4 separate regions of the Homo sapiens genome follow, and regions 1, 2 and 4 are each linked to region 3. Evidence: promoter capture Hi-C in 16 types of primary human blood cells and fetal thymus (Javierre and others, 2016). All regions are on one chromosome and are shown on one strand. Each heading gives the region's core, a stretch centred on a gene start or on the middle of the fragment in contact. The rest is flanking DNA. Distances are from core to core; before and after follow the strand shown. Region 1 has its middle 57 kb from the start of SLC25A52. Region 2 overlaps DSG2 (desmoglein 2). Region 3 holds the start of B4GALT6 (beta-1,4-galactosyltransferase 6). Region 4 overlaps DSG2-AS1 (DSG2 antisense RNA 1).

Region 1 (3,034 bases), core at 492-2,991, 130 kb before region 3:
TTGGTATGGAGACATCTTTACAATGGAAATTTCCTTTGTAAATATAAATATCCTTTATAAAAGGAAAATTTTATACTTTCCTTTTAGATAGGGGGAAGTAAAAAGCTTTTCCTGCATCTCCTGGTTCTCAGTTGCCTATAACTCAAAATAATTCTTGTCAAAGTGGTATATTTTTTGTGGGGCATATTCTGGTACCTTTAAATTTCAAAATCGATATCAAGATTGATGTATCAAGTTTATAGAAAGTATTTGAATATTTTAAGAATTTAAAGGTAGGTTGTAATATTTTCTAAACAATAATACGTTTTTGGATGTATGAGTTTACTTGCGAATAACAGGCTATAATATAGTTTGGCTGTGTCCCCACCTAAAATCTTATCTTGAATTGTAATCCCCATAATCCCCATGTGTCAAGGGAGAGACCAGGTGGAGGTAATTGAATCACAGGGGCAGTTTCCCCCATGCTGTTCTTGTGATAGTGAGTGAGTTCCCATAAGATCTGATGGTTTTATAAGTGTTCGGTAGTTCCTCCTGCGTTCATTCTCCCTCCTGTTGCCTTGTGAAGAAGGTGCCTTGCTTCCCCTTCACCTTCCACCACGACTGTAAGTTTCCTGAGGCCTCACCAGTCGTGCAGAACTGTGAGTCAATTAAACCTCTTTCCTTTATAATTTACCCAGTCTCGGGGATTTCTTTACAGCAGTGTGAAAACAGACTAATACAGGCTGTCATCTCTGCAAACAAGATTGCCTTGGAACAGCTAGTATTGAAAGGTTCCTAAATCACACTACCCAGCTTTCAATCCATGGCTTTCCTCCTTACCAAATATAAGACTTTGGGGCAGTAACTTAACCAGCCATCTGAGTTTTTTCATCTGTATAGTGTAGCAACAATAATTCCTATTTCAATGGGTCGTTTTGACGATCGGCTGACCTAATTCCATACATTTCTTAGCTCAGTGACTGACAGTAATAAGTTCTCAAAAAATGTATCATTTTAAAACATGATTTACTTAAATTCCATTTGAACTTCGTAAGTCCCTCTGTAAGTCCCTCTAATAGATGTGATTTCAAATGGCTGTATGAAACCTAAATAATTCAAACTTAATTATAATTTTTAGAAGCCTAAAAATTATGTTGAGCCTTAAAGGAAATGTGACTGTGTGGTCTGAGCACATGCATGTGGCTGCAATTTCTGCTTCTCAGGTTATAGATTCATTCTTTCTCGTTGTTCTTGTTCTGCAAATCAATTAGGAAAGACTAAATGGTGCCAGACATAAGACCTCCCCCTCCTGATGATGGCTAGCCTTTCCTCCTTTATTATCTTGCATCTAACTCAGATCAGATGGTGCGGAAGACTCCATGATTGTTATATCCTCAATGTGGAATGTTAAATATACCTTTCCCAAAAAGAACACCACCTCAATTAATCAGATTACTGTAACTGTGTGCTAGCCTTGTGTGGAAAATGTTGAAACATTGTTAAGCTTCCCAAACCTTATTTATATAAATGACCCCCAAAACTTCTCCACTTTGGAGCACTGGCTTCCATTCTTTGGAATCTGTGTTCCTGGATGCCTATCCTTAAAATTTGTGCTTGACTAAATGCTATATTTAACCATATTTCTTGAATCTCTTTAAGGTCGACACTCTATAGCAACCACCGCACTATTTTAAGTTACCAATTCTGTTCAAGATTCTAGGCTTTATTTTGATTGTAAACTTGGGGCTTGGCACATCAACTGTGAGATTTGTTTCTTTCATATCATTCCTTAATACTTAGAACAATGCAGGACACATACTAGAAATTCTTGTTGAATTGAATAGAAGAAATGAACTGATGAATGAGATATTGGGTACCATAACTCTTTTGACCAATGCCCTCTGATCACTTTAAATCTCAAGAAGAGCCTCAATTTCAATAATTAAAATTTCCAAGAACTTTAATAACCAGCATTCTGAATTTCATAAAGTTAACATTGGCTTCTCTCCTGGGAAGCTTTCAGTTTGGGAGGAAGATGGCCAACTTCTCCATTTTTCTACTGTGTGCTTCTCCTTCCTGTGTTAATATACTTGGCTGACTCTGAATCTTCCAGAATTTGGTAAAAGTACCTAAGTAGGAGTAGCAAGGGTGTAGGAACGCCTTACCTCACCGGTACTGTGATAACCTGGCATTGATGGTCTCTGGGCACCAGGGAATGTTTTGTGGGTTCTTGAGAGATCTCCCATTACTGGGAATCTTCCACAAGGTGGAAGCCATGTGTCGATGATAGAGCAACAATTTAGTAGAAGCCCATCGTCCCGATGATTGTGGAGTCTACATAGTTGCCTGGGACTGTCTATCTGGACTTTTGTGCAAAAGAAGTAAAGTTTAATTTTATTAAACCTATTGATTTTTTTTGCTGAACATACCCTAACTAATAAAACTATGTTGCCATTGCCAGTAAGGTGTGTTGTCCCCTCTGAGTGTTTAAGATCCTAGCAGGAAGCCATGTTGTTCATCATGTTATACCTATGGATTTTGTGCAGTGCCTGGGCATAGACTATATGTTCAAAAATATTTGTTTGATGAATAGATCAACCTGATATTTTTATAGGGGCAGGCTGGTTTGATGTGCCACATTTTATTATTGAAACCCAATTTTTAATACAGCAGTTAATTTGGCTGAGTTTAGTATTGTTATTGTTGACCACTTATCCCCTCAATTCTCGTCTCTCGGAGTCATTTTTTTTTTTAATACTTTAAGTTCTGGGTACATGTGCAGAACGTGCAGGTTTGTTACATAGGTATACATGTGCCATGGTGGTTTGCTGCACCCATCAACTCCTCATCTACATTAGGTATTTCTCCTAATGCTATCCCTTCCCTTGCCCCCAACCTTGCCCTGGGGGAACGCCCCAGTGTGTGACGTTCCCCTCCCTGTGTCCGTGTGTTCTCATTGTTCAACTCCCACTTATGAGTGAGAACATGCAGTGTTTGGTTTTCTGTTCCTGTGTTAGTTTGCTGAGAATGATGGTTTCCAGCTTCATCTGTATCC
Region 2 (2,745 bases), core at 55-2,554, 180 kb after region 3:
AACAATGAATGTTTAGGTTCCTCTGCAGAACCATGAACTATCATTTTCAGGCCTTTTAGATGCTCTTCTCTCTACCTAGAATCTATTTCTCTTCATATCATCTCACTAATTTATAATTATTCTCAGATACCAGCTGGGATACCCAGTGCTGAGATAGTTGCTCCTTCTATAGGCTCCATGGTACTACGTTTCTCTATTATTACTCTTCTTATCGTTACCCATTTGGAAGTTAGCCATTTACTTGTTATACCATTCATTAGACTGTAAGCACCATGAGGGCAGAACATGTCTGGCTTTTTTATAGTTCTCCAGTGTTTAGCACATTGCCTAGCATCAAGCAGGGATTCACTAAATAGGGGTCATGTGTCTGGTTTCTTTTCTTATGGACATTTCTCATCTCACTATCGACCACGGTAGGAATTCTGTTGTTCCAGCTTCTTCACTCTAATCACCAAGCTTTGCATATGACAAAAACTTAATAAAAAACAAAACTGAGAAGATAGTTTCTCATCATATGTAGACTATATGTTTATAAATTGTTGTCAAAGCTATTGAAATCTGTGTCAGAGTGAAAGACAAGGGAAAAAAGCTGTGATTAAAAATTGCTCAAATAGATCTAAAAGTCCTTTATGCTTTCAGTTAAAGTTCCTTCCTTCCTTTCTTCCTTCCTCCCTCCCTCCCTTCCTTTCTTCCCTCCTTCCTTCCTTCTTTTTTTTGACAGAGTCTCCCTCTGTCACCCAGGCTGGAGTGCAGTGGCACAATCTCGGCTCACTGCAACCTCCGCCTTCCAGGTTCAAGCGATTCTCCTGCCTCAGCCTCCTGAGTAGCTGGGACTACAGGCATGTGCCACCACACCCAGCTAATTTTTTGTATTTTTAGTCGAGATGGGGTTTCACCATGCTGGCCAGGCTGGTCTCAAACTCCTGACCTCAGGTGATCCGCCCACCTTGGCCTCCCAAAGTGCTGGGATTACAGGCGTGAGCCACTGTGCCCAGCCTAAAGTTTCTAATTTTAAATATAATTTGGCAGTTTTCAAAAACACTTATCCCTATTCAATGTGTAATTTTTCCCATGTAAATTTTTCTATGTCATAAATATAGATTTTTTTGCAAAATATAGACCAGTAATTCTCACGCTTACACTTGTCTGACAATTAGATCAATTGGGAAGTTTCTATAAATACATATTTATATTGTAGTGAGCCCGCCCCAGGGCTCACTACACTCACACACCACAGAATATTAGCCTTGGAAACTTTAATTTAGCTTATCGGGGATTTCTAATAATCAGAGAGTACGTAGGCCAATGAATGCTCATATCTCTTTGTAAAGTACTTGCCTTAAGTTATAATTAAAGAAAATTTCTGTTAAGAGCTGCCATTTTCCCATTACCTACTAACTTTTAGAAACAAAAACCAGTAAGAAATCCATGTTTCTAAAATCCTTGGATATGATAATTGATTATTCTTATGGCTTCAATATTCACCATCTAATTTATACTTTAATGTATTCTTTAATATATATTATTCAGTTGTATATTAGAACACTAAGCATAACTCTGATATTATTGATAATTTATAGATACTTGAATCCACTTGTTATGGATCAAATTATGACCCCTAAAAGATAATATATTGAAGTGCTAACCACCAGTACCTCAGAATGTGAGCTTATTTGGAAATAGGGTCTCTGCAGATTTAACCAAGCTGAGGTCATTATTTTGGGGCATAATCCAGTACAACCGATGTTCTTATAAAATGGGGAAATTTGGACAAGGACACAGACATGCACAGAGGGAAGATGATATAAAGAGACAAAAGAGAGAATGCCATGCGCAGATGGAGGATTGGAGTAATGAATGCACCTACAAGAGAAGGAATGACAAAGATTGCCAACAAACCAGTATGCACTTGGAAGAGGAAAGGAGGGAAACTGGTTTCAGAGGGAGCATGGCCCTGCCCATATCTTGATTTTGGATTTCTAGCCTCTGGAACTGTGAGATCATACATTTTTGTTGTTTTAAGCCACTCAGTTTTTAGCACTTCGTTACAGCAGTCCTAGCAAACTAATACCCTACTAAATATATCTGCTCACAGTGTGATCTGCTATCATTGAATCCTTAAAATGTAGTTTGATTTTAAAGCACAAGCTTCATTAGTCGAACCCAAAATTGAAGCAACCATCAGGAAATCTCTCACCCACGAGCCCTCCTTGGCAATCTGGCGAGGCCTATGAACCCCTTCTCAGATTAATGATTTCAAATGTATAAAATAAAATACAGGGGATTATCAATGAACCCAATTATATTGAAATAGTTATCAGCATTTTTAAAATACCAATTTGTGATGCAGCAGTATCATGTATTTTATTAACATATTAAGTAAAAGATCTAGTAGAAAGTCTATTAGTGATGTTCAGAATAAATGGTATTTTGAGATCACCATAAGATGTAAAGGTATTTATGAATTCTATTGTGATAGTCACAGCTACTGCTCACACTACTGTGCAGTGTCTTCCCCACACTCATAATTTAAAGAAATACTAAATTTCAGTCCGAAGTTAGTTAAAATATATATGTAATTAATTCCTTGCCATCTCTAGGAACTCTTTGAATTCTATCTGTGAACCATTTGGGAGTTGATGGATTGCAAAGAACCCTTGAAGAGGAAATATTCTCTGATTTTATTCAGAAAATTATTTCTTTTTCCCATTTTGATACAGCTGGCCTAAATGTTTGATAGCTATG
Region 3 (2,712 bases), core at 68-2,567:
AGGGACGCACATAGGTCCGCGCCACATCCTGACACTGTTTCCACAGGAAGTGCGGGATAGGAGGGGGGATTCATTAATCCAGGTCGGAAATACACCTTGTTCCTCGAGGATTTTGGAAGGAAATTCCACCCGCGAAGTCCCCTTTTGGAGATGCCCTTTTCCTTTCAGGTACAGCATCCTTCATTATGTACCCCCAGGGTACAATGTATCCGGGGCTCGCAACGCGTCCCTCAACCCCCAGCAGCGCGGTCACCGCGGGGTCCCCGGGCGGGCGGGGGCGGCGGTGACGCAGGAGGCGGTGGGGCCCCGGTGCGGCGGGCGCGGGGAGGGGGCTGCTGGGCGCGGGCCTATCAGGACGCGCGGTGTTTCGGGCGCGGGGAGGGCGGGGACCTCCAGGTTTCCTCGGGGCCCGGCGCAGCGCCGCCTGCCGAGTTCCGAGCGAGCGCGCGAAGCGCGCAGGGGTCTCGAGACGTTCCCGCCGGTCCCGGTTTTCCTCCGCGGCTCCCCCGCCCCTTCACGTCCGCCTCTTTCTCCAACCAGACGCGGCTCCGACGGCGCTCGGCCTCTGCTCTTCCGGCTCCCCGGCTCTGCCCGCAGCGCGCGTCGCCCGGTTGCTCTTCGCCTGGTGTCCGCGGGCCCGGCGGGGGCGCCTCACCCCGGGCGCGCGGCGGTAATGCCGCTGCCGCCCTTGCGGCCAGGCAGGCAGCTGGCGGCGGCCGGAGTCGGAGCGCGTTCGTCGCTGGCCGGGACGCCGCCCTGGCCTGTGCTCAGCTCCCGCGGCGGCCGCGGGGCGCCGGGGCCCGGCGCGGCATGAGGAGGCGGCTCGGTGCAGGCGAGCGCCCAGCTCCTCGGCCCCGAGGGCCCCCGCGGGCCCCCGCGCGTGGCGCGCGCTGGTTGCGGCCCCGGCGCCCACGCTAGCCCCGCGCAGGCAGGAGACGCCGCGGCCCGGAGTAGGAGGCGGCGCAGGGCCTGCCGAGCGGACGCGGGCGGCCCGGACCTTAAGCACGGGGCTTCGCGGCGGGACCCCGCCGGGCGCGGGCAGCGGAGCCGGGCGTGCTGCAGTTAGCTGCCCCTCTCCGCAGGGGCGCCGCGGCGCGCAGCCTGCGCCTCCTCCCACCTGCAGCCCCTCCTCCCGCCGCTGCTTGGCGGAGAAAACGCTCCTCCTCGCCCTTCCCCGGCTTTCTTCCGTCCTGCCGTCCCCGGGCCCCTAGCCCCCAGTCCCCTCTCCCCCCTCCACCTCTTGTCCCTCGGCCTCCGCGCCTCCCCTCCCCCGACTCTCTGGCCTCCCATTCATTCCGTCCGCTCCCTCCCATTTCCTCTTTTCCGCTCGGGCCCTCTCCCCAGAGCCTCCCCGCGCGGACCCCGCTGCAGTCTCGGGGTTCTCAGCACATTTATGGAAGTTTAGGGCCTGGACAGTGGCCCCGAGTCCGGCCTGAGAGCGCAGCCTGGGCTGCTGGCAGGGAAGAGGAAGATGTCTGTGCTCAGGCGGATGATGCGGGTTTCCAATCGCTCTCTCCTCGCCTTCATCTTCTTCTTCTCCCTCTCTTCGTCCTGTCTGTACTTCATCTATGTGGCCCCAGGCATCGGTAAGCACCGAGACACACCCTCGCTTCCCCTGGTCACACCACAGCCAGCGCAGGCTGTTATCCGATGTTACTTCTGGGATTTGGAAGCTGTTCAAACAGGGGCCCGCAGAAAAGCGTTTTGTTTTAAATGTTATTTCAGACGTGTCAAACTGCTTCAGGGCATGGCTTTGGTATGTGAGTTTTGTTAATGCATGCATTTTGTTAATGCATGTTTGTTAATAACGTAAAAGATTGCATTAAATAGACGTAGCAAAATTAGTGTGATGGCCCGGGATGCCCTAGTCGCTTTCTTGAGTGTTCATGACAGCTTTATCCATTTAATGTTAAGTCTTTAAGCCTAAACTGAGTGCTTAATCGTAGTTTTATTCAAACACTCTCGGGTATAATAACTGGTTGTAAAAATATGGAGGAGCCAGCAGCAGGGAATGTGATTGAGTCCAACAATGTGTGTTTTCTAGGGTCCTAGGTCGCTTTTTTAGAATGGGGTCAGTGGACCCCATTCTTTTTGTGCCATACTTGGGGAATTTTAAGGCGATGAGTTGTCTTGTAAAAACAATGCTCCATTATTTTAGTCTGCTTGGGTGTTATTTTCAAGGGTACGTTGCCTTTGCTACCTGTTAGGATGACTTCTGAGAAAATAGTGATTAAAATAACCGTTATCTAAGGGAACTTGTAGTTTAAAATGTTAACCGGTTTATCATTTTTTGGCCTTTGGTGCAAAATACACTTTTGTAAAACTGCTTGAATTAACTTCTTTATTAAATATCCGAATTCCTCGTCCCCCATTTGTTGAAAAGGAGCCAATGCGGCGTTAATTCTAGTGAATGAGAATTATGAACTTCACATGCATATTAAAATATGTCATATTTCCAAAACTTTTCTGAGTTTTTCCTGGCTATTACGTATTTAATGTTCAATTACTTAGTAACAGTGAGCATCTCCTCTCATTTCTCCTTACACACTGTGGTCGTTTGAGCCAGTGCTCTTTGTTCCGAGTTAGCTAAAAATGTAATGCCCCTTACAGAGTGAAAACACCTGCAGAATTTTCAGATGGAATGATCAGGGCATTGTCTTGAGTGTAGTAGATTATTGCAGTGAATTGCAGCAGGGAAGGAAGATGGAAACC
Region 4 (2,783 bases), core at 202-2,701, 130 kb after region 3:
TAGCCAGGATGGTCTTGATCTCCTGACCTTGTGATCTGCCCGCCTCGGCTTCCCAAAGTGCTGGGATTACAGGCGTGAGCCCCTGTGCCCGGCCCGCAGTTTCTTTAGGAGCTACCTGTGATGTGCCTCACCTTCAGGGTTTAATGCTTATTCAATGATGACACTGTTTTCTTTCTCCTTTACTTTGTGGAAAGGTTTTTTAGGTTGAGAGGAAATTTTGTTGTTAGTTATATTTCCTCAGTAAGAGCAACCAATTAAAAAGTAAACACAAGCGGGTGTAGGTGAAAGGTCAACAGAGGTGCTACAGTGGAATCCTAAAGCATGCAGTACACAAAAGAAGTCAGGAAACAAGAGTGGAGAAAACCAAAAAACCAACAGAAAACCCAGGTGGACAAAGATAAAACAAATACAAAGATGGAAGCTTAAACTTATCCATATAAATAATTGTTGTAAAACCTTCTGATAAAAGTCAGAAATTGTCAAAATGGGAAAAGCCAAGACCTACCTGTATATTGTTTACAATAAATGTACTATAAAGGCACAGACAGGTGTCAAGCAAAAGGATCAAAAAGATATACCACGGAAGCACTAACCATAAGAAGGCTGGTATGGCTGTATTAATGTTAGGCAAGGTAGATTTCAAGACAAAGAATGTGTTAGAAGAAAAACTTCAGGCAAATTAAATTTTACAAAGTTGGCTGGGTGTGGTGGCTCACGCCTGTAATCCCAGCAGTTTAGGAGGCTGAGGCTGGTGGATCACTTGAGGCCAGGAGTTCGAGACCAGCCTGGGCAACATGGGGAAACCCCATCTCTACTAAAAAAAAAAAAAAAAAAAAAAATGCAAAAATTAGCCTGGTGTGGTGGCGTACACCTGTAATCCCAGCCCAGCTACTCAGGAGGCTGAGGAGAATCACTTGACCCTGGGAGGCGGAGGTTGCAGTGAGCGGAGATTCTGCCACTGCGCTCCAGCCTGGGTGACAGAGTGAGACTCCATCTCCAAAATAATAAAATAAATAAATATATAAACAAATTTTACAAACTTTAATTGAGCAAAGAATAATTTGCAAATTGGGCAGTACCTAAACCGGAGTAGATTCAGAGCCACGCTGGTGCTGCCACGTGGTCAGAGAGGATTTATGGATAGAAAAAGGAAGTGAGGTACAGAATAGCAGGACTGGTTACAGCTCAGGGTTTGCCTTATTTGAATGCAGTTTGAACAGTTGGCTGCCTGTGAGTGGTTGAAGTATTGCGGCCGTGATTGCCTCAGACAAGAGTAGGTTACAGTCTGTTTACACATCCAGTTAGGTTATAGTTCACTAAGTATGGAGAAACCTTCAGGCCAAACTTAAAATATGTAACAAGGGCCAGGTGTGGTAATTCACGCCTGTAATCCCAGCACTTTGGGAGGCCAAGGCAGGCGGATCACCCGAGGTCGGGAGTTTGAGACCTGCCTGACCAATATGGAGAAACCCCGTCTCTATTAAAAATACAAAATTAGCTGGGCGTGGTGGCGCATGCCTGTAACCCCAGCTACTTGGGAGGGTGAGGCAGGAGAATCATTTGAACCTGGGAGGCGGAGGTTGTGGTGAGCCGAGTTTGCGCCATTTCACTCACTTGAAACTCCGTCTCAAAAAAAAAAAAAAAAAAAAAGGAAAAGAATGTAAGGAGGCAGCTTTAGGCTAAAGGTAATTAGCAGTTATAAACAGAGATGAAGAGAGGCATTTCATAATGATAAAAAGATCAGTTCTTCAGGAACACAGTAATCCTAAATGTACTTGTACCTAATAACACAGGCAAAAAGTTTCAAAACACAGGAAACAAAAATAGAAAGAATTAAAGGGGGAAATAAGCAAAGCCACACTTGGGAGACTTCAACCTCTTAGTAATTAATGGAAACAGTAGACAAAGTAATTGGGAATGATATAGAGGATTAAAATAAAACATAATGAAACTAATAAATTTTGGTCCTTTAAGAAAGTCAGATTTAATGATCTGAAATGTCTCATTTTTAGGTGATATTTGGTTAGCAACGTCCTACTGTAGACATTTTGATGTGGTGGTGATTGGAATATGGTCTGCAGAGATCAACCAGAATTAGCTCCATGTGCCACTGGGAGTGGGAACTGAAGTCACGCAGGAATAAACCAGTCTTCATGCTTTAGGATGTTCTGATGTGCCATTGTCGTGAAATCTTCATTCATGAGACATTCCAGTTTACCGGCAGTGTCGACTAGAATATGCTACAGCCCCCAAAATACGTTTTTAGTATAAGGATTATTTTGAGCTGATTATTTTGAGAAATAGCAGACGCAGGAGAAACTCTGAAGACAGAACGTAAGTTTACCTTTTGTAAAGGGATTTACATTTATAAGGGAAATGTCCATTTGTAAGGCTGTCTCCCTCCGTACCGGAAACACGGGATGACTATAAGTGACAAAGAGATTAATTTAAATCTGCATGACAAATCTTACTCAAGCTTACCAGACTTTTCCTGGTCACCTTCCCATAACTTGTTTCCCCTGCCCAGAAGCCCCTAATCCCCTTTCCTATGTTTTAGCCCAAGTTGGTATATTATTAAATTAAACTGGGCCTGAGGCTGCCTCCATACCTTGAGTCCCCACATGACGAACTGCAGCCTAGCTTGGTACATAAATGAACTGAAAGCCTAATTTAGGAGTATATTTTTGTAATACATAGCTGAGCGTCAATCAATCACAGCAGCTGAGTTTCAGCCAGTCACTGGCTGCCAACTGATCAGCCCACCTCCAAATAAGGCAAAGGCT

Evidence for each region. The method cuts DNA at HindIII sites, captures the fragments that hold promoters and counts their contacts. A CHiCAGO score of 5 or more calls a contact.
Region 1: a fragment that was not itself captured here is called in contact with the fragment with the promoter of B4GALT6 in region 3 in 1 of 17 cell types (M0 macrophages); the score reaches 6.2 in M0 macrophages.
Region 2: a fragment that was not itself captured here is called in contact with the fragment with the promoter of B4GALT6 in region 3 in 1 of 17 cell types (fetal thymus); the score reaches 5.2 in fetal thymus.
Region 4: a fragment that was not itself captured here is called in contact with the fragment with the promoter of B4GALT6 in region 3 in 1 of 17 cell types (M0 macrophages); the score reaches 7.2 in M0 macrophages.

Annotation. Positions count from the first base shown.
Region 1 is chr18:31,816,086-31,819,119 of GRCh38, reverse strand. No RefSeq gene overlaps it. Among named protein-coding and RNA genes, the nearest start is that of SLC25A52, 57 kb to the right of the region's middle. The HindIII fragment of the contact is 512 bases long and covers 1,486-1,997 here.
Region 2 is chr18:31,500,720-31,503,464 of GRCh38, reverse strand. The region is part of intron 1 of DSG2 (desmoglein 2); the gene reads right to left. Among named protein-coding and RNA genes, the nearest start is that of DSG2, 3.9 kb to the right of the region's middle. The HindIII fragment of the contact is 1,692 bases long and covers 459-2,150 here.
Region 3 is chr18:31,683,186-31,685,897 of GRCh38, reverse strand. B4GALT6 (beta-1,4-galactosyltransferase 6) reads left to right here and starts at 1,317. Exons shown (of 9, transcript NM_004775.5): 1 at 1,317-1,586. The coding sequence starts at 1,472. RefSeq lists a silencer at 181-1,220. The HindIII fragment of the contact is 10,803 bases long and covers 1-2,712 here.
Region 4 is chr18:31,549,589-31,552,371 of GRCh38, reverse strand. DSG2-AS1 (DSG2 antisense RNA 1) reads left to right here. Exons shown (of 6, transcript NR_045216.1): 3 at 2,013-2,334. Among named protein-coding and RNA genes, the nearest start is that of DSG2-AS1, 5.9 kb to the left of the region's middle. The HindIII fragment of the contact is 2,055 bases long and covers 424-2,478 here.